Regions from separate parts of the Homo sapiens genome. Here all the other regions are linked to region 3. Evidence: promoter capture Hi-C in 16 types of primary human blood cells and fetal thymus (Javierre and others, 2016). All regions are on one chromosome and are shown on one strand. Each heading gives the region's core, a stretch centred on a gene start or on the middle of the fragment in contact. The rest is flanking DNA. Distances are from core to core; before and after follow the strand shown.

Evidence for each region. Contacts are between HindIII fragments. The CHiCAGO score rates a contact against its expected background, and 5 or more counts as called.
Region 1: a fragment that was not itself captured here is called in contact with the fragment with the promoter of TTC23L in region 3 in 1 of 17 cell types (total B cells); the score reaches 5.3 in total B cells.
Region 2: a contact is called between a fragment that was not itself captured here and the fragment with the promoter of TTC23L in region 3, in 2 of 17 cell types (total B cells and endothelial precursors). The highest score is 7.4, in total B cells.

Annotation. Positions count from the first base shown.
Region 1 is chr5:34,576,236-34,579,610 of GRCh38, forward strand. No RefSeq gene overlaps it. Among named protein-coding and RNA genes, the nearest start is that of RAI14-DT, 78 kb to the right of the region's middle. The HindIII fragment of the contact is 1,299 bases long and covers 1,008-2,306 here.
Region 2 is chr5:34,502,150-34,505,365 of GRCh38, forward strand. No RefSeq gene overlaps it. Among named protein-coding and RNA genes, the nearest start is that of RAI14-DT, 150 kb to the right of the region's middle. RefSeq lists an enhancer at 1-1,055. The HindIII fragment of the contact is 1,380 bases long and covers 943-2,322 here.
Region 3 is chr5:34,837,253-34,840,582 of GRCh38, forward strand. It overlaps TTC23L (tetratricopeptide repeat domain 23 like), which reads left to right and starts at 1,912. Exons shown (of 11, transcript NM_144725.4): 1 at 1,912-2,007. TTC23L-AS1 (TTC23L antisense RNA 1) reads right to left here and starts at 2,080. Exons shown (of 2, transcript NR_183259.1): 1 at 1,931-2,080; 2 at 295-1,765. RefSeq lists an enhancer at 2,202-2,311. The HindIII fragment of the contact is 6,317 bases long and covers 1-3,330 here.

The sequences.
Region 1 (3,375 bases), core at 407-2,906, 260 kb before region 3:
CTGCTGTGGAATTCTATGAATTTTATTTTATGCATTTTAAAATATTCCTCTGAGAAAGGTTCCACTGGCTTCACCAGGCTGCTGGGGGTTCCCATGGCATGAATAAAGTTAAAAACCCTGGAGCAAGGGGCCCAATTCCTGGCCCTCCTGCTGATCAATAGCACACCCTTCTTCTGTCATCCTCATCTTCCACTCTTTTTTGTCCTTCTAGTTACCCCCACCTCCTTCCCAGCCCTAGGCACTGCGTTGCATTTCATTTCTGATAACTCTTCCTAAAGTATGAACTAAAAGCATAAGGCTGGGCTCTCATGCCTGTAATCTCAGCACTTTGGGAGGTGGAGGTGGGAGGATTACTTCAGCCCAGGAGTTCAAGACCAGCCTGGGCAACATAGGGAGATGCTCATTGCTACGAATAATTTTTTTAAAAAATCAGCCAGGTGTGGCAGCATACATCTGTGGTCCCAACTATTCAGGAGGCTGAGGCAGGAGAATCGCTTGAACCTGGGAGACAGAGGTTGCAGTGAACCAAGATCACACCGATGCACTCCAGCCTGGGCAACAGAAGCAAAACTCCGTCTCAAAAAAAAAAAAGCCACTTACACTTATATGTCCTATGGTTGCATAGGCACCCCTGATTCCCTTCTCCCATAAGAGCTTGTGGGGGCCTCCCACTCCCTGCTCACTGTGAGAAGCGCATCGCCCTGCCAGAGGCCCCTGTGCCACCATGGAGCTTCAGCGGGGCGGGTTCACCGTGGTGCATTACAGAGTTTTCCTAAAATGACACCCTCCATCCTGTGGTTGATACTGTGGTTTGGAGATTTTTAATGAGCCCATAAACTATCTTTATAGTTGTCCTTGTTTGTTTTTAAAACATTGGAGTTATCAGCAGGATCCTGAGTCTCATTTCACTCTTCAAGCAGATTCTATTTTTGGCTTGGCAAACTTTGAGAGTGGAAGCCTTTTCCACGAAGAAGAAATGGAGCCAAAAAGAAATGGCTTCCTAAAAAAGCTTCATGTGCTTCTGGAAGAAAAATGATGTAGGAGGTGGAAGTCCAACCTAGAAATAGAACAGAGGCCAGAGGCAGGAGTCCTCCTCATGGGAGCATGACCTGTGGTAGCTCTGGGCTGGGCCTGCAGAAGGCGCCATGCCTGGTGAATGCCCTGCTCCCGCCATCTTGAGATGAGATGCTTCTCAAGTGTGGAAGAATCAGTTCTGCATTTTCATTTTGTACTGGACCCCACAGATTATGTAGCTGGTGCTGGCCAGCTGGGCTGTGTTGTGAGTAATACCTCCTTGTGTTCTCAGAGGATAAGAAGGGAGCTCAGTGGGGGGAAATGGCACCTAAGTTGTAAGGGTGCGTGAAGGCTTATTTTAAACCTCAACTCGACTGAAACATGCGGTGTCCAGATTAAATATTATTTCTGGGTGTGTCTGTGAGGGTGTCTCTGGATGAGATTAGCATTGAATCAGTGGACTGAGTAAAGCAGACCGCCCTCCCCAGTATGGGAAGACATCCTCCAGTCTATTGAAGGTCTAAGTAGAAAGCGAAGGTGCTGGAAGAGGGTATTTGCTCTCTCTGCTTGACTGCTTGAATGGGAATGTTAATCTTCTCCTGCCCTTGACTGGGACATGTACCATCAGCCCTCTGGCTCTCAGAACTTGACCACCAGCTTTCCCGGGTCTCCAGCTTTAAGATGACAGACCGTGGGACTTCTCAGCCTCCACAATTGTGTGAGCCGATGCTTCAAAATGAATCATATACATTAGATTTTATTTTATTTTTTTTTGAGATGGAGTCTGGCTCAGTCACCCAGGCTGGAGTGCAATGGCGCAATCTCAGCTCACCACAACTCCGTCTCCCGGATTCAGGCGATTCTTCTGCCTCAGCCTCGCAAGTAGCTGGGATTACAGGCACCTGCCACCACACCCAGCTAATTTTTTGTGTTTTCAGTAGAGATGGGGTTTCCCCATGTTGGCCAGGCTGGTCTTGAACTCCTGACCTCAGGTGATCTGCCCACCTCGTCCTCCCAAAGTATTGGGATTACAGGCGTGAGCCACCGCACGCAGGTTCCATTTTAAACTGATTGGATCTCCCCTGGGAGAGCAAATCTGACCTAGAGCAAAGGCCTTGTTCAGCCTGGGGTGTCCTGTTGGGTCCAAGCATTCATGAAGCTACATCTTTCAGACCCTTAGGTCTCAGGAGCCTCCTTAGAGAACCCAGAATTAGAGTGTGCCCATGAACTGTATTCATTTGCTACCACTGCTATAACAAAGTACCATAAACTTGGTGGCTTAAAACAACACAAGCTTACTCTCTTACAATTCTGGATACCAGAAGTCTGAACTCATCCTTATAGGCCTAAAATCAAGGGATCTGGAGGCCCCAGGAGAGAACCTGTTTCTTGCCCCTTCCAGCTTCTCATGGGTGCCAAGAATCCTCGGCTCATGACCTCATTACTCCCATCTCTGCCTCTGTGGTCATTTTGTCTCCTCATCTGTGTTAAAGCTCCATCTGCCTCCCTCTTATAAAGACACTGACAACCACATTTGAGGCCCACCAGGAAAATCTCTCCATCCCAAGGTCCTTAACTTAGTTGTATCTGCAGAGTCCCCCTTGCCACATAAGGTAACATTCACAAGTTCCAGGGATTCAAGCATGCATGTCTTCGGTGGCCATCACTCAGGCTACCATAGGAGCTGTTGTGAAAGTTTGTGCTCAGCCAAGAAGCCCAGTGTCTTCCTGCAGCCCCAGGCCACTCCAGCACTTCCCTCACTGCTCTCCACTCTGGGCCTGAACTTCCAGAAGGCTCCCTGAAGCAGATCCACACCTCTGCAGCACCACTTCCCCAACCTTACCAAAGTGTGCCTGTGAACAGATGCTGCAAGAGGAGAAAGGAGAGGGGGAGGAAGGAGAAGGAGAAAGGGTAAAGGGAGGGAGGGTCACTCCAACCTTGCCTGCTGGTTAATGCAATAAACTGAATTGGACCAAGATGTCGATCACCTCTAATGATGGCATACATACTCTTAATACTTAATTTGACTCAAAGAAGAGACTAATAAAATAATTCCAGGCCCTGGAGAGGTCCACAGGGAAGACACTTTTGTTCAGGCACTGAAAAATAAACTATATCCATTTACCAGTAGGCTGGTCTGACCACTGGAACCAATGAACGACAGCAGTTCAGGCATTTTATAAACCCAGAGCACTGGCCAGGGATGAGCTCTGCAGCAATGGGTTTGCCTCTGTTTAGCCTCAGAACCTGGCTGACAACAGAACAGGGCCTGCGGGAAAACAAGGACAGGTGGCCAGTTATCCAAAGGGCTTCCTGCTCCACCATCTCCTACTCTCTCTGGACAGTTCATACACCAGAGAA
Region 2 (3,216 bases), core at 383-2,882, 340 kb before region 3:
CTTAGGTGGCTTTCTCCCCTTTGGCTGTCTCCTCTCTGGTTCCCTGTAATTGTGTCCACTTCTTTTCATCTCAAGCTTAGACTGCCTATCAGTCAGGGTCCCAGAAAAACAGTGGCACTCTGAAATTAGGAGGATGTGAGGAGAGTCTAATAAAGAAACAAATTACAGAGATGGGAACTGGCTGTTGGGAACCCACAGAAAATGGTGCCGTGTGCTGGGACTAAAAGCAGCAAAACCGTGTTGCCACCCCGTGGTCTTAAGAGGAAGAAAGGAGGAGCTCCAAGGAAAAACACAGCAGACCCATCGCTGGGAATCAGGTCAGTGTGTGTCCCATCCTCACTCCCCTCCTTCTCTCCACCTCTTAGCCATGCTCACAGCCAGAAGCTAGAGTGCGAGGCAGCCTGTTGTGCATCACACAGACAACAGCTGGGGACACTGCGAAGGTGGGAAGGGTGGAGAGTAAATCCAAAGAGGGAAACGGAAGGAATCCAGCATGGGTGATTAGGGCTACCCACTGCCCCTAACCCAAGGACCGTCATGGTGCCAGTGACTGAGTTACTGCTTCTCACCTTCACACCCACTCAACTGTTCTCTGCTGTATAATGCTGGGGCTGGGCTTCTGCTTTGCCAACTGACTTCCTCTCGGCTTCTGCCAACATGGATTCTAGAAGAAAACTGGAAGCGTGGGAAGGAAGGAGAGATTTGCTCCTTCCCACTTGCTTTTTGTGGGTTTCCTGTTTGCCTCCAGGTCCCACCAGCCTCACCTTAGGCCCGCATCTTTCTCCAGCAGAGGCAGTTCATTCCAGTAGCAGCAGTTGAATCCGGTGTGCAGTTTTCCCAGCACGCACAGAACTAGCTTCATTGTGCCTTCTTGGAGACCCCAGCAGCAGCCAACCAACACCCACTCCTCAGCCAGTCACAGCCCCGTGGAGCCCCACTCCAAGCTTGGGGACAGCAGCAGCAGCTGAATGGCAGCCTCCTTCTCAGATGTCTGCATCTCTGCTCTATGGGAGCCCTCACAAGTTTCAATAATGTCATCCTCTTCTCTTTGTTTCCCCAGCCCCAGGAACGATAGGTTCTTTCTGCTGTGGCATTGCCGCAATTACTTGGTGTTCTCTTTGGGGCACAAAATGAAAGAATCCTGGGTCTCTGAATCGTGATACAGAGGAAAGCTACCCACCAACCCAGGACACATTTACCGAACTGTTATATGAGCAAGAAAGACATTTTGATTGTGTAAAATCACCAAAATATGGATCCTATTTTTTACAACAATGAACTGCACCTATTATGCCTGAAGAACATTTTAAAACATGTTTCTAGACTCCATCCAAAACCAGAATCTTCCAGCACTGTCTAGTAATCTATCATTTTAAAATGTTATTCTTCCTGGTTTGGAAACCACAGTCTAAATTGCCCTGAGCGTATACTTATTAACATTCACCAGGTAGCAACTACCCAAAGCATAGTTGTGGTACTTAGAAGGAATTCATCTATAGCTCAAGAATTAACTTCGTAGTTTTTAACTGCTCTTTTTTTTAGAAATGTCACAAAAAGACTGAGTTCAGAGAAGATCAGCATGAAGTGAGCTGTGGAAGTTTTGCTATTCCCAAAAGAAAAGGGCTTTCAGATATCCTGATTGTCTGCCAGCATTGACTGCCTCTGAAAAATCAGTGTCTTTGCCAACTATGTGACAGACACTGGGCAGATTTACAGGATGAGAGACAATTGCTGGGGCTCCTTTCTATTCTGTTAAAAAGCCCTGACCCAGAGAACTCAGGACTTTCTGGCGCAAAATGGTCTGATACAGATTTTGTTGCTGTCTCAGATTCACGCACTTGCTTTGGTTCGTATGGCTATTTTCAGGTGACAGCAGTAATTAAGGCATGTACTTGGTGATAGGCATCTTCTTGCATGGGTCACCCCACAGGGTTTGATTCCCAGGCCAACTGGCAAGATTTCTGAAAGCAAGTGACAGCTTGTAAGAGGGGTGAAGGAAAAGGCAGAGCTGGCCGGGTGGCTGTGTCCTATGACAAAGGATTACAGTTAATGGTGCTGAGGTCTGGCAAGCACCACGACCCTGCCTGGCTCCCAAGCTGCTCTGTCTAAATGATCATTGTTGATTATGTGTCTATACCTAGGCAAGAGAGTGGGACAGCATGACAGAAAGCAGCTTCTTGACAGGCTCCAGAAAATTTCCTTTATAAGGGCTTTACCTTTAATAGAGAACTCGAGAGGTCAAAAATGTTATATTAATACTTTGTCTTCAGACAGGCTGCCCATGTAAACAGTTCATGCTGCTAGACAAAACGAGTCTTAGGAAGCTTAAGGGCATGTTTCCACAGCAGCCTGGTATGCCTAAATTAGCAGTAATTATGTCTAAAGAGAGAAGCATAGTTTAAAAGAATTATGGCTATGACTTTTGGCACATGGAATGGAATGGAATCAAATCTTTTTTTGTTTTTTAGTTTCTTTCTTTCTTTCTTTCTTTCTTTCTTTCTTTCTTTCTTTCTTTCTTTCTTTCTTTCTTTCTTTCTTTCTTTCTTTTGAGACAGGGTCTTGCTGTGTTGTCCAGGCTGGTGTTGAACTGCTGGCATCAAACAATCTTACTGCCTCAGCCTCACAAAGTATGGATTGCAGGCATGAACTACCACACCCAGCCAATTTTGGAGTCAAATCTAAAAATCTTTGGGTATTTCAAAACCCACAAAGGTTTCTAGTTTATTGACAAAAGCACTTAGAGCCTGGCCTAAGACAGACAAGGATTATTTGAAATGTAAAACCACTCTTGAGACCCCAAGTAGGAAACAGGCAGTGAATGCAGCTAAGCCACCAAAAATGACCTGTTTTACAATGCCCCTGTAGAAATGAGCAAGGGAGATGATGAGAACAAAAGGATCTTCCAAAAAGCAGAATCAGAAAAATAGATTAGAGAACTATTCCCAGGGAGCAGAACCTGGGCTGAATCAAGAAATGTTACCTCTTTCCAGAGCAAGGAAACTTGGTAACATTGACCTAGGAGGTTTCAGAATTGCTATGGATCAGTAAATGCATTGCACCTCACATCTTTCCCCTGTTGAAGGGGAGTAATTATCCTGTCTCTGGTTTACCTTGAATTTCTGGTGTATGTGGGGCAATTAATTAGACTTTTTAGTTCATAGATCTTTTTATCCTACAATTTGAGATATTCCCTGTGGTTAGCAGAATTTTAAAGAT
Region 3 (3,330 bases), core at 662-3,161:
TGGACGGTGGCTCACACCTGTAATCCCGGCACTTTGGGAGGCTGAGGCAGGCAGATCACCTGAGGTCAGGAGTTCGAGACTAGCCTGGCCAACACAGTGAAACCCTGTCTCTACTAAAAATACAAAAACTAGACAGACAGTAGTGGCACACATCTGTAATCCCAGCTACTCGGGAGGCTGAGGCAGCAGAATTGCTTGAACCCGGGAGGCGGAGGTTGCACTGAGCCAAGATCACACCACTGCACTCCAACCTGGGCCACAGAGTGAGACTCTGTCTCAAAAAAAGAAAAAAAATAGTCGCCAAAGTTATTTTATTTTGATTTATAATTTTTACAGATGCAGGCAACATGCTTCCGGTCAGAGCTAATGAAATGGAGGCCGAATTAGAGCGTTGGCTTTAGGAATGGGAATTCAGTGCCTGTTCTGGTTCTTCTCTCCACAATTATCAGCAAAAGCAAAGGTTTAGAAAAGAGACATTACCTTTAATATACTTAGAAACAATCTCACAGCCATTTCCTAGAATGAAAGAACATTAAAACCTTTCAATTTGATGACCAACTTAACAAGGGGTAAAAGAAATAAATGTTGGAGAACAGGAAACAGGTTCTTCCTTTTTACTCCCATACATGTTAAATACTGTTCATAGAGTCACAAAAATCGTTTACCCCTTACAGAAACCTGGAACCAGAAGGCGCTTCAGAAAGCAAGTGGTACAAAAACTTTCACCGTATAGGCAAGAAAATTGGGACCCACTGGCCGTGACTCGGCCCAGGCTACAGAGTCAAAACCAGAACCTTGACATTCTGAAATCAGGTTCATTGCTGTCATCATTGTTCCATGCTGAGAGTTTTCTTAGGAAAAAGAATAAAGTGGGGGAATCTTTCCAAAATTGTGACTATGGAGCTCGAAAGTACAGATTTAAATCTTGAGTTAACAGACCATACAGGTTTTACTTAAGAGATATTCAAGCAAACTCATTTAAATAACTCCTCCAACCTAACTCCAAAAAGGCTTTCTTGGCAGTCTTGGATCAATGGCAATTAAACTTCCAGCCTAGAGCTGGAAATAACAAACACCAAACGTAAACACCATCTTTCACATTCTCAATGTTCTCCTTGTCTCTCTACCTAGTCTGCTCTTTTCTGAAAACAACTGGGACACATTCACTCCAACTTGACTTGCCATAGGCCTAGTCTATGATAGGGTTCATAATAACATCCTTCAACATAGCGTTGCAAGAGCTGGCGCTGTTTCTTTGGGTATGGCCACAATTGCCTCTGCACCTTGTGTGTATTACACACACTGTATTCCATGCCAACGAAAGGGTAAGATATGGCTGCATTATTTAGGGCTAAGTGCTAAATAAATAATGAACAGCTAACCATTAGCAGATCTAGTAGTCGATTTCTTACCCTACTCTCTTCCTGCAATCAGCTTTCCTAACCATGCCTAGCTCCAATCTTACTGGGTAACACAGACGGTGCCAGCACAGTCAACAGCCATATCTAAGCCTTTCCTCTGGGGTCCATAAAAACAAAACTCCCGAGGAGCTGTGGGGGTGCACCGTGGCCAGGATCGTCGCCGAATACAGCCCGCACACGTCGCAGCTTTAAATAAGTAGGGCCGTGGGGCCCGGCGCTCCCTTCCATCCTTGGACGGAATGTATCTTCTCTTCCTACGCCTTCACCTCCGAGGGGTAAGGTCTCGTGAGATACAATATGCAGAGGCCAGTTTTGGGGCGAGCCGGAGGCCGGGCGCGTCTAACCTGCGGGGAAGGGAAAGCGGAGGGTAAGGCAAGGGCTGCTGTAGGCGCCAGACAACAGGGACTCTCCGAACCGGAAGTGCCCCGCGTCGCCATGGCTACAGGCGCTCCCAGCAGAACCCGTAGCGTTCCGTTCCCATGGCAACGGTATTGTCTCCTTGGCCGGACCTGGGCTGCGGAAGGTAACTGGGGACGTCGCAGGCTGTGCAGCTTTCGCGAGGCACCGCTTTGGCGCCCGGACCGAGGTGCGCCAGGGTCAGGAGGCCGACGCAGCGGGAGGAAGCCGCGCCGTCGGGCTCAGGGAGCTGGGAGGCTGGTTCCGGGGCGTGGTTTCTCCGCCTTGAGCCAGGTGCCCTTTGCGCACTCGCGCGTTCTCTTAGAGCCTCCGCGGCAGAGAGGCTCTCAGAGCTCGACCTGCGGCGTCAGGGCTTACAGACTTGCCGCAGAACCACAGCGGGAAAAGAGGAGCGATTCGTCCTTGAGGGGCTCAGGGCCGTGCGGAACGTCATAGGAACAGAGTCCGGGAGTTTGAGAGATCAGAACTCTTTGCTGTGGGCATAGTGTTTAAAGTGGAGGTTAAAAAGAGAAATTAGTGACTCTCCCTTTCTGATTTTCGGATAATGGATGCTCTGGAGCCTGGGTCAGAAAGCCACTCAGGGCTCGGTGGGAATTAGTGATTCTGGAGGGTGAAAGGAGAGGCGACTTGGTGGATGTTAACATTCAATAAGTAACTGCGTTCGATTTGGGTTTGATTTAAGCGACTGGCATAGCCTTCCTTGAGAGTTGAATTTCACAAATACTGTATTTAGAAATCACATTTTTCGTTTTGTGCTTCCGAGGTTTCTCCTATCATCTAACAGCAACAACTAAAACAGACACATGAATTTCATTTTATTGTTTTATTTTATTTTGAGACGGAGTCTCGCTCTGTCGCCCAGGCTGGAGTGCAGTGGCGCGATCTCCGCCTCCCGGGTTCAAGCGATTCTCCTGCCTCAGCCTCCCGAGTAGCTGGAACTACAGGCGTGCACCACCACAGCCGACTATATTTTGTATTTTTAGTAGAGACGGGGTTTCACCCTGTTGGCCAGGCTGGTCTCGAACTCCTGAACTCGGGTGATCCACCCGCCTCGGCTTCCCACAGTGCTGGGATTACAGGCGTGAGCCTCTGTACCCGCCTCGTGACCCCTGTACTAGAATCTGCTATTAATTAGTGAAATGACCCCGGGGGGGGGGGGGAAAGCAGAATTAACCAATACACTGGCTGTGCTTCGTTTACCACTGAGAGTTGGTTGCTTTGCTTAAATCCAACACGCCGTCAGACCTGCAAAAACAATATCTGAGTTAAGTAGGTGACCATAGTTTTGATGACCCAGGAACTGTAAATGTGCTTGCTTTGAGACATAAAGGCCAGGGATTTTGGAGAAGTAGGGTGGAGTTGAAATTAGGGGAAAGAAATTTAACTTAGACATTTAATTTGGCAAATGTCTGTTTTCCAGCGGTCTCCATATCTAAGTATGCGTAGTCTGTGGATTTAGGATGGGTTATATATTTGAGCAGTTTTAGTTTAA